Linked DNA regions of Homo sapiens: all the other regions are linked to region 2. The links are contacts of gene promoters, found by promoter capture Hi-C in human tissues and cell types (Jung and others, 2019). All regions are on one chromosome and are shown on one strand. The core of a region is centred on a gene start or on the middle of the fragment in contact, and the rest is flanking DNA. Distances in the headings are between cores, read along the strand shown.

Region 1 (3,463 bases), core at 834-3,333, 270 kb after region 2:
AAAAAAACCTCAAAATTTTCAAAGATCTCCAGAGGGCCACATATATCTTGAGTCTACACGGAGTCCCAGTTAAGGGCCTTGCTGTTGTCCAGTTTTTGATAACGTGTGGAACAGAGTCATGGACTTGGCTTTCAAGACTACCCATCTACTTTAGGGACAACGTAAATAAATTCTTCACATGCTCTCCCTATGCCTCTGTTCTCTCATACATAAAAGGAAGATAATGTAAGTACTTTCCCCAGTGTGAGAATTATTCTTTCAACCAATATTTGCTGCATGACTAATGTGTGATGGTCATTGCTCGGGTAGGGAGATAAAAGAGTGAACAAGATAAACAGAGCCTTCATTGAATTTATAGCGTAGTAAGGAAGATGAGCAGTAAACACATAAAACAATAAAAAATTAATTCCATTTAGGTAGGTACTATTAATATGAAGGGACACACCACATGCCATGAGAAACTATAGCAAAGGTCTGAAAGATGAGTCAGTGCATTTTTATTACCTAGGTAAAGGAATCTGGGACAAGGGTGTTATGGACAGATGAAAGACCAGATATTAAACACCATGAAGGTTAAACCTTCAAGGAACTAAAAAAAGTTCAATGTAGTTGTGATCTAAAAAGCAAAGTGAGACAGGGCTGTAGAGGAATGAAGGGGGTGATCACGCAGGCTACTATTCATCTTAAAGATATGGACTTTATCCTAAAAGCAATGGGGAATCATTATAATATGTTAGGCAGAGCAGTGACAAGACAGGATTGTGCTTTTTAAAATAAGACTGAAGAGACAATCTCAATAAGCCTGTAGTTAGTAAAGAAATTAAATCAGTAATTAATAACCCCAAAACACAAAAAGCACCAGGCCCAGAATAATTTACTGGCAAATTCTATCAAACATTTAGAGAAGAAATAATACCAGTTCTCTATAATGTCTTCCAGAAGATAGAAGCAGAGGAAATATTTCATAACTCTTTCTATGAGGCCAGCATTGCTCTAATACTAAAACCAAACAAAGACATTACAAGAAAAGAAAACTACAGGCCAATATTTATCATGAACGTAGAGGCAAAAATCTTCAACAAAATACTAGCAAATTAAATCCAGCAATACATTAGAAGAATTATACATTACGACCATGTCAGATTTATCTCAGTTATGCAAGACTGGTTTAACATTCAAAAATCAATTCAATCTATCATATCAACAAGCTAAAGAAGAAAAATTACATGATCATATGAATAGCTGCAGAAAAAAAACCCTGGACAAACTCCAACGCCTATTCATGATAAAATCTCTCAGAAATTTGTGAATAGAACCATGAAAGGAAAATAAATCTTGGGGCCCCAAATCACTAAGCTAAAGGGAAAAGTCAGGATAGGAACTGCTTAGGGCAAACCTGCCTCCCATTCTATTCAGTCACCCCTCTGCTCACTGAGATAAATGTGTATCTTATTGCCATCTTTGGAGAAGTTAATCAGAAACTGAAAAGAATGCAACCATTTTTCTCTTATCTACCTATGACCTGGAAGCCTCTCCCTGCTTCCAGTTGTCCTGCCTTTGCTTTGAGTTGTCCCGCCTTTCTGGACTGAACCAACGTTTATTTTACATATGTTGATTGATGTGTGATGTCTCCCTGAAATGTATAAAACCAAAATGTGCTCTGACCACCTTGAGCACATGTCGTCAGGACCTCCTAAGGCTGTGTCACAGATGCACATCCTCAACCTTGGCAAAATAAACTTTCTAAATTAAATATTTGTCTCGGATATTCAGGGTTCACAGAGGGAAGCTTTCTCAACATGATAAAGAACATCTACAAAAACTCTACAGCTAACATCATACATAATGGTGAGAAATTAGAAGCTTTCCTTCTAAGATCAGAAACAACATAAGGATGTCCCCTCTCATCACGTCTTTTCAATATCATAGCAGAAGTCCTAGTTAATGTAATGACAAAAGAAAAGGAAATAAGAGGTATGCTGATTGAGAAAAAGAAATAAAACTGTCTCTCCTTGCTGATGTCATAACTGTCTGCACAGAACATCCAAAAGAATAAAAAAAAATTCCTGGAACTAATAAGCAATTATAGCAAGATTGTAGAATACAAAATTAACATAAAAAAGTTAATTTTCTTTATACCAGCAACAAACAAGTGGAATTTGAAATTAAAATCACAATACCATTTACATTATCGCTCCCTCTAAAGTAAAATATTGTTATAAATCTAACAAAGTATGTGCAAGATCTATATAAAGTAAACTACAAAACTCTGATGAAAGAAATCAAAGAACTAAATAAAGAAATAGTCCATGTTCATGAAGAGGAAGCCTCAATATTTTCAAGATGTCAGTTTTTCCCAACTTGATAAACAGGTTCAAGAAAATCACAAACAAAATCCTAGCAAATTATTTTTTGGATATCCACAAAGTTGTTCTAAAGCAAACAAGGAGAGAGGTAAAAGAATAGAATAGCTAATGTAATCCTGAACGAGAAGAACAAAGTTGAAAACCTGACACTACCTGACTAAAAGCTACAGTAATCAAGACAATGTGGTGTTAGTGGAAAAATAGACAAATAGATCCAAGGAACAGCATAGACAGCCCAGAAACAGACACACAGAAATATCAACTTATCTTTGACGAAGGAACAAAGACAATACAATGGACAAAATATAGTCTTTTCAACAAGTGATTCTGGAACGCACATACAAAAAACAAAATCTGGGGACACAGACTCATATCCTTCACAAAATTAACTCAAAAGAAATCAAAGTGCCAAATGTAAAATTCAAAACTATGAAACTCCTAGAAGATAACATAGGAGAAAATCTAGATGACTTTGGGTATGGCAATGATGTTTCGATACAACACCAAAGATGTATGCCATAGAATAAATATAGTCCTGACCTTAATGAAATAAACAACCTCTGCTTTGCAAAAGACACTGTCAGGAGAATGAGGAGACAAGCCATAGACTAGGAGAAAACATTTGTAAAAGAATTATCTGATAAAAGACTGTTATCCAAAATACACAAAGAACTCTAAAAACAATAAGAAAACTAACAGCCTGATTTAAAAATGGGCAAAAAAAACTTGAACAGACATCTCATCAAAGAAGATATACATGTGGCAAATAACCATATGAGAAGTTGTTCCACATTATATGACATTAGTGATATGCAAATTAGAGCAACAGTGAATTACCACTACACACCTATAAGAACTGCTCAAATCCAAAACACTGACAACACAAAATGCTGGTGAGGATGTAGAGCAACAGAAGTTCTCATCCATTGTTGGTGGGAATGCATAATGGTACAGCCACTTTGGAAGACAGTTTGGCAGTTTCTTACAAAAAAAACAAAAACAAACAAACAAAAAAAAGCATGATTTTCCTATACAATCCAGTGATCATACTCTTTGATATAAACCCAAATGGGTTGAAAAATTAAGTCCAGGCCAGG
Region 2 (3,410 bases), core at 419-2,918:
CCATGTCTAACCACATCTTAGACTGATCTATCCTCACCTTCTACGAAGCCATTCACGAAGACCACAAAAGCTAAAAGATCTGTCTTTAATTGGTACTTTTATTATATGTCTTTCCTCGTAATTCCCTAACTTCACGTGTTATGGAAGGAGGCAGGGAGCATTCACCTCCCACGACCGGGAGTCAGTCTCTGTGTCAGGAGTAAGGAGTGAAGAGTCTCGCCTGGATCCACAAAAGACGTGACATCTCCCACCCAGCGTCCCACTGCTTGCCGCCTGGCTACCTTTAACCCCTTGCCCTCCGCACATCCTCCCCTTCTCTAGCAGAAAATTCCGCAGCGCTACGGTCGGGCTGGAGGCAAGCCCTGCAGCCGGGGGCGAGCGCGGCACTCGGACACAGGCACTCAGTGTCTCCGGCGCCGGCAGCCGAGCCACGGGCCACCCCTTCCCACGGCCTCCCGGTGCCACCCAGCGAGGCCGGGACAGCGCGCCTTCCGCAAAAAGCGCAGCAGCCGAAGTCCTGAAAGCAGGGTCTTCATCGCCGCGGGCCCTCCGAAGGTGCCTCTCCCAGCTGCAGCCGCCCCTCAATGAAAGTGCAATGTGTTATCTCGCCCAGCCCAGAGGAGAGGTCCCTGTTTGGCCTTGGTTCCAGCCCGGCTCATTCAATTCGCTGAATGTCGGGTCTCCCGGCCCGCCCCGCGATTCTCCGGGAATTGGCCTTGGCCGCGGGCAGGGGGCGACTCTCCAGTGACCTCCTCCTTGGACCCCATTTCTCTCTCTCTCTCTCTCTCTGTGCCTGTCTTTGTGTCTCTGTTTCTTTGGCTTTCTCTTACAAACGCACGGGGGAGTTGGTCCTTTTCCACAATGCCAAAATGTCACCCAAAAAGCTAGTGCAACAACTTGCTTTGCAAACGACCCAGGAGCCTGCCGAGAAAGCCCTGCGGGGAGCAGCCCCCTCCTCCCCTGCAAGGTGCATCGGGGGTGGGGTGGGGGTGCGAATTTGACCGGTGGACATGACCGGGACAGGGGACCGGTGTTCTCCTCCCCTCCCCCTTCCGGGACCCTGTCGCAATTAGAAATCCTTCCCCTGCCTGGGTCCCCGTGGGGAGCCGCGAGGACCGCATGGCCGGAGAGGACGCGCTCGCCCCCGAGATCCCAGGTTACCCGGAGGGCCCGGGAGTGCACCCCGGGCGGCTGAAAGGGTAAGGAGCGCGGACTCTCGAGCCAGCGGCCGGGGGAGCCCAGCCCGCAGCCCCTCCGCGGGCGAGGGAAGCGGCGACCGCGCGGCAGGCAGCAGCCAGGAGCCACCCAGCGCGCCGCGACCGCCGCCGCCGCGCACGCCCCAGCCCCGCGGCGCAGCCCGGCGTTACCTGGCCGCGTCCCGCAGTCCGGCCCTCGCTGGCTGCGTCCGTCCGTTGGTCCCACGAGCCTCGGAGGAAGGAGAGAGATGTCCCCGCGACCAGGACCGGCTCTCAGCGAGGTGACGGGAAGGACTCGAGAGAGGAGCCGAGGCGGCGGCGGCCGTTCGCGCCGCCTATGCTGCCGATTCCCCGAGGCGGAAGGTGTCCGCGAGGCCGTGTCCTGGAGATTGCGGCGCCCGAAGCGCAGCGCTCGCCTCTGGAGCGGAGGCTGAGCGCCGGGACGCGGCGGGCTGGGGCTGCAAGGCTGGGCTGGTGACCCGCCCCTGGGTGCATGTTAATACGGTGGGGAGGAGGAGTCCCGCGCTTCCTCCGCCCAACCACCGGAGCCGGCGGGCGGGCGGCGGCCGCGGCCCGGAGCCAGCCGCTCCCACCCGCCCCAGCTACTACGGCGCGGCGCGACCGCGGGCTCCGGCCCCAGCCCAGGCACGTGCGCCCAGGCCGCGGGGAGGCGCCGGCGCCTCCCGGAACGCGCTCCTGGCCTGCGAGTGCTGCCCGCTCAGTCTCCGGGTGGGAAGTGCGCTCGCCCCGGACCGAGGGGAAAGCCCAACATCCCCGGGATGGAACAGAGAGGCGGCCACCCGTGAGTGGGCGTGACCCATTGGTTCCCTTGCGCAGCATCTGTGGAGAATTAAGCTTTCCCCTCCTCTCTTGCCAGCCGTTGTTCCTAATCTTGTCTTTTTTAAGGGAGGAAAGCAGGAGAACTCATGACACTTTGTATCACAGGAAATCAAGTTGGTGGACAGAGGGTTTGCTGACCTCTCCCGTCCCTCCTCAGGGTCCCTAGGAGAATTTTTGAAGAAGTAATCGGCAGCAAGGAGATGGGGGCAATAGAGAGTCTCAGACTCGCAGGGACCCATGTTCGTCCCCAGCGCCACTACTTTCAAACCGTTATCCCTCAGAGCTGTTTCCTCACCTCCACAACAACTCTCCCGGGTTCGATGACACTATATATCCCACCAGTTCATCTTGGTACAGGCCAAAAGGTAATTCAAAAAGCGAAACGAATCTCATCTCCTGACCTGTGCCCTCGGTAAAGTCCCCAGGTTCCACCCCAAGTACACTTGGAAGCCAGGCCCCTCCACACAGGCTGAGCACCACGCTTCCACAAACTGAAAACAGAGAGAATCCACTTGGTTTCAAAGTTAGAATAGGGATAGCGGCGTGAGTGGGTGAATTGCGATGTGGGTCAAGGAGAGAAAAAAGTAAATCAATTAAGTATTTATTGAGCTCCTGCGCTGCCCACTTAATTGCAAACGTTACAGTAGTTAAAATAATCGTGGTTAATCACTGCCTTATTATTTCCTTCTATTAAAAAAAGAAATGGCATCTTCATGGAGAATGTCCTTTGTTCTACAGCTTCCTGAGGGAATATTATGCCAAAAAGTACATAATCTTTATGTAATTTTATCCAGAAGTTATAGCATAAGATTTAGCATCTGTTTTGTGTGATGTCTAATTATAAATATTAATAGAATATCCTTTTAAAGACAACACTTCTAAAAATGCAAGGAAGTGAAAAACAGTTTTCATAAAAATATGACTCAGATAAATAACCTCTTTCCTGCAATTTCACTGAGTGATTTTCCATTAAAGAAAATAACAATTACTGAAACCACTAAATGGAGGTAAATTCTCAGCATTGTAATATCATGAGCACCGACGCTTTAGCAATGATCTAAAAGATATTCTCAGACAATTCAAGAATTACTATAGGGGCCCAGCTCAGTGGCTCACACCTCTAATCCTGGCACTTTGGGAGGCCGAGATGGGCAGATCACTTGAGGTCAGGAGTTCAAGACCAGCCTGGCCAACATGGTGAAAACCCATCTCTACTAAAAATTCAAAAGTTAGCTGGGTTGGTGGTGGGCGCCTGTAATCCCAGCTACTCTGGAGGCTGAGACATAAGAATCACTTGAACCCGGGAGGTGGAGATTGCAGTGAGCCGAGATCACACCACTGCACTCCAGCCGGGGTGACAGAGCGAGACTCTCA
Region 3 (3,138 bases), core at 162-2,661, 320 kb before region 2:
TCTCCTATTTCCCAAATTTTCAGAATGAGTAAATTCCAGAGGCACTGATGATACCAATATACTCATATTACCTCAAGTGAAGAAAGAAAGGAACACACGAACACAGATAGTACCTGGAATAGTGATTATTTAATAGTAAGTGATGGATTAGTAAGTGAATGTGTAAGTGACATCAGCAAAATTGAGTGAAGATCCCAGTGACATCTAGATGTGATTAGAAACTCTTACCATTTCAACACTTGTAAGTTCAGGACATTCATTTATTTTATATTTATTTATTGAATCACTTGTCATTTATGTGCCACTTTCTGTTTTCTAAATGCTTTACAATATTAGAATCTAGGAAGACAGTGGTGAGGAAGACAGATTCAGTCCTTGTTCTTGTGAAGTTTACATTCCAGTAGAAGGGGCAGGACCACACCCTCCCATCGCACACACATACACACAGAACATGAACACGGACCACAAGAGAGCGGCACATTGCGACTAATGTCAGGGTCATCACAGAGAAAGAGCCGAGGGAGCCGTTACAGGTAAGGGAAGGCTGTTCTGAGAAGGTGACATTTTGGCAAAGATCTTTTAATGGAGGACAGAGGAGGCAGGAAAACAACCAGAGAATGCCTAGCAAGAAGTTGGCCTGTTGCAAAAACTGTGAGAAAATCATCCACTCTGATTGGCGAGGATGTGGCCAGCAGGGGGAATTGCAGGAAAATATGACAAGGATTTACCCAAGAAGGGACTATTTGCATATAATTGTATTAAAAAAACCAGAGCCATAAACACATGTAATATTGATAAACAATGTCTTTTATGATCACAAACAGCATTACAGTGTCTTTTTTTTCAGAAATATATTATGCAACTATTTATATCCCAAGATAACTGCAGACATTCAGACATTCACAGAAAGAAACAAAGACCGTTATTGTCTCCAGTTTATGAGCTTCAGGAAAAAAACGTGGGCGTGTGTGTGTGTGTGCGTGCAAGCACGTGTAAGAGAGAGAGCAAGAACAGTTAATTACTAAACATTAGAAGAAAGTCAAACCATGTGTGGGCTCATGTCATTCAGGCCATCACAATCATTTTATTCCACATGACAAATGGAATAAGAAATAGTGATATTTAAAAGTAAAACATGCGAAGAACTGTAATACTTTAAAGCACAGGTTAGAAAGCTTTTTCTCAAAGGGCCAGAGAGTAAATGGCTCTAAGGGCCATACTTCCTCTGTTGCCAGTACCCTACTTGGCTTTTCTAGAACAAAAGCAGCCACAGACAATACATAAGAGAACAGGTGTGGCTGTGTCTCAGTAAAGCTTTATTTACAGTAACAGGAGATGGGCCAGATTTGATCCACGAGATGAGGTCCGCTGACTCCTGCTTTAGAGGACTAGAGGACAATGCTCAATAATATCTAGAAGAATCACTCCAAAATATCAAGCCAATTTCTCAAACGTGGGCAAGAGAAAGAGCCAGGAAAGGGTGACAAGAAACTGCTGGATTGGATTAGCTAGAGGTTATCGTATTTTACTAGCCATAGGCACAAATTTAAGTGATAGCGTAAAGAAATCTATAACTGTTTCTATTGACTGTGCAAATGTTAAAAGAACATTGTCAAAGATCTTATTTTTAAAATGTTGTATGAATGCTTCTGGCATGAGGTACGCAGCTGGCACAGATGATTCCAAAGTTCCCATCCAACTCTAAAATTCTAAGTTTCCAAAATTTAAATTATAATACAATTACTAGTATCTGGCAGAATTTCAAAAGCGGTTGAAATGGTGTTTTATGACTTTTTTTTTTCCTGGCTTAACATTTTTGTAAATTCTAGAATGCTAATTCTTGAAGCTTGGCAGCTAAAACAATAATTGACTATTTCCTAGTCACTTTGCAATTGGTTTCTTTTAATTGAGGATGAATTGGTACAGCATGTAAAATCTGAAAACTAAAAATGGATGCTTTAGACAATTCATTCTTTTCACTGAAATGATTCAACCATACTAAGCCATATATCTACTTTTATATATCATTTAGTGAAGACCCTGACTAAGCACTCACATTGTATAATCACTAAGTACACATTCATTGACCATCTATTACAGGGTAAATTCATGATTGGCCTATATTAGGGCATAAAACGCTTATTAATTGAGTGAATGAACATAAACTCTAAACTATGGTGTCTATGGGTTCAAATTATAGCTCTGCCACTTTCTAGCTGTGTGACCCTAGGGGAAATTACTTAACCTTTCTGTGTCTTTCTTGGTCATTGGTAAAATGGGGAGAAAATAATACCTATATTATAAGGTATTGTGAGAATAAAAGTTGACAACCCTATTTCCACCTGCACTTTCATTCTGCCAGGTACAATAGTTGTCTAACATATAAGCATCATATCATCCTACAAAAGAAATGGTCTTCCAAGAGAGCCTGGTGTCCTGCTGATTTCTGGCAAAAGAGTTCCCACTTAAAATTCTACTCTAAAGTATCGTATTCAAAATGAAAAGAGGAAAACAACAGAAAATGAAAATCTGTTAAAGGAATCAAGTAATTTCATTTGCTGCGTGCCATACATGTTGCTGGGTATTACGAAAGCTTCAAAAGCATAATTCCTGTTATCCAGGAGCTTTAATAAAATAAAACATACTAACAGGTAAAGGTAATTAAATGTACTTGTTACACATTTATTGAGCATTTGCAAGTTACCAGCATTGGTAATGCAAGGATACTTCAGATACAATCTAGAGAGGCAAGTCACATCAACTCTGTGAGACTTACTTTCTTCATCTTTGAAATGGGGGTAGAACTGTTTCAGCAAGATTTTGTGAGAATCACTGCACAACGGGCTGCAACATGACAGGCTTGCAACACCCTAAGCGCTTTGAGTAGAGGCTGCATGAGTGTGGAGGAGAGACTCAGCCTCCCCCAGGAAGGTGACAATAGAGAAGTGCCTTGAAGGAGGTTTGGGAGACAGAGAAATCCAGTAAGAACATGCCATGAGGAGAGCACAGCACATGCTAAGTCAAGGGCTTCCAACAGGGCTCATGAGTGCCAACGATTCACTGCCCCAACACCAGAGGTACAAGGGTTGCCTCAGATTCAAGTCCATCTAATCCATTCACCATTTGCCTATCAGAACT

The links. Contacts are between HindIII fragments. The study calls those that stand out against the background at their distance.
Region 1: a contact is called between a fragment that was not itself captured here and the fragment with the promoter of DLGAP1 in region 2, in 1 of the 25 tissues and cell types used here (H1 embryonic stem cells).
Region 3: a contact is called between a fragment that was not itself captured here and the fragment with the promoter of DLGAP1 in region 2, in 1 of the 25 tissues and cell types used here (dorsolateral prefrontal cortex).

The regions. Positions count from the first base shown.
Region 1 is chr18:4,723,553-4,727,015 of GRCh38, forward strand. No RefSeq gene overlaps it. Among named protein-coding and RNA genes, the nearest start is that of DLGAP1, 270 kb to the left of the region's middle. The HindIII fragment of the contact is 3,072 bases long and covers 548-3,463 here.
Region 2 is chr18:4,453,639-4,457,048 of GRCh38, forward strand. It overlaps DLGAP1 (DLG associated protein 1), which reads right to left and starts at 1,669. Exons shown (of 13, transcript NM_004746.4): 1 at 1,368-1,669. RefSeq lists a silencer at 1,689-1,818. The HindIII fragment of the contact is 8,504 bases long and covers 1-3,063 here.
Region 3 is chr18:4,130,234-4,133,371 of GRCh38, forward strand. The region is part of intron 2 of DLGAP1 (DLG associated protein 1); the gene reads right to left. Among named protein-coding and RNA genes, the nearest start is that of DLGAP1-AS5, 130 kb to the right of the region's middle. The HindIII fragment of the contact is 4,071 bases long and covers 1-3,138 here.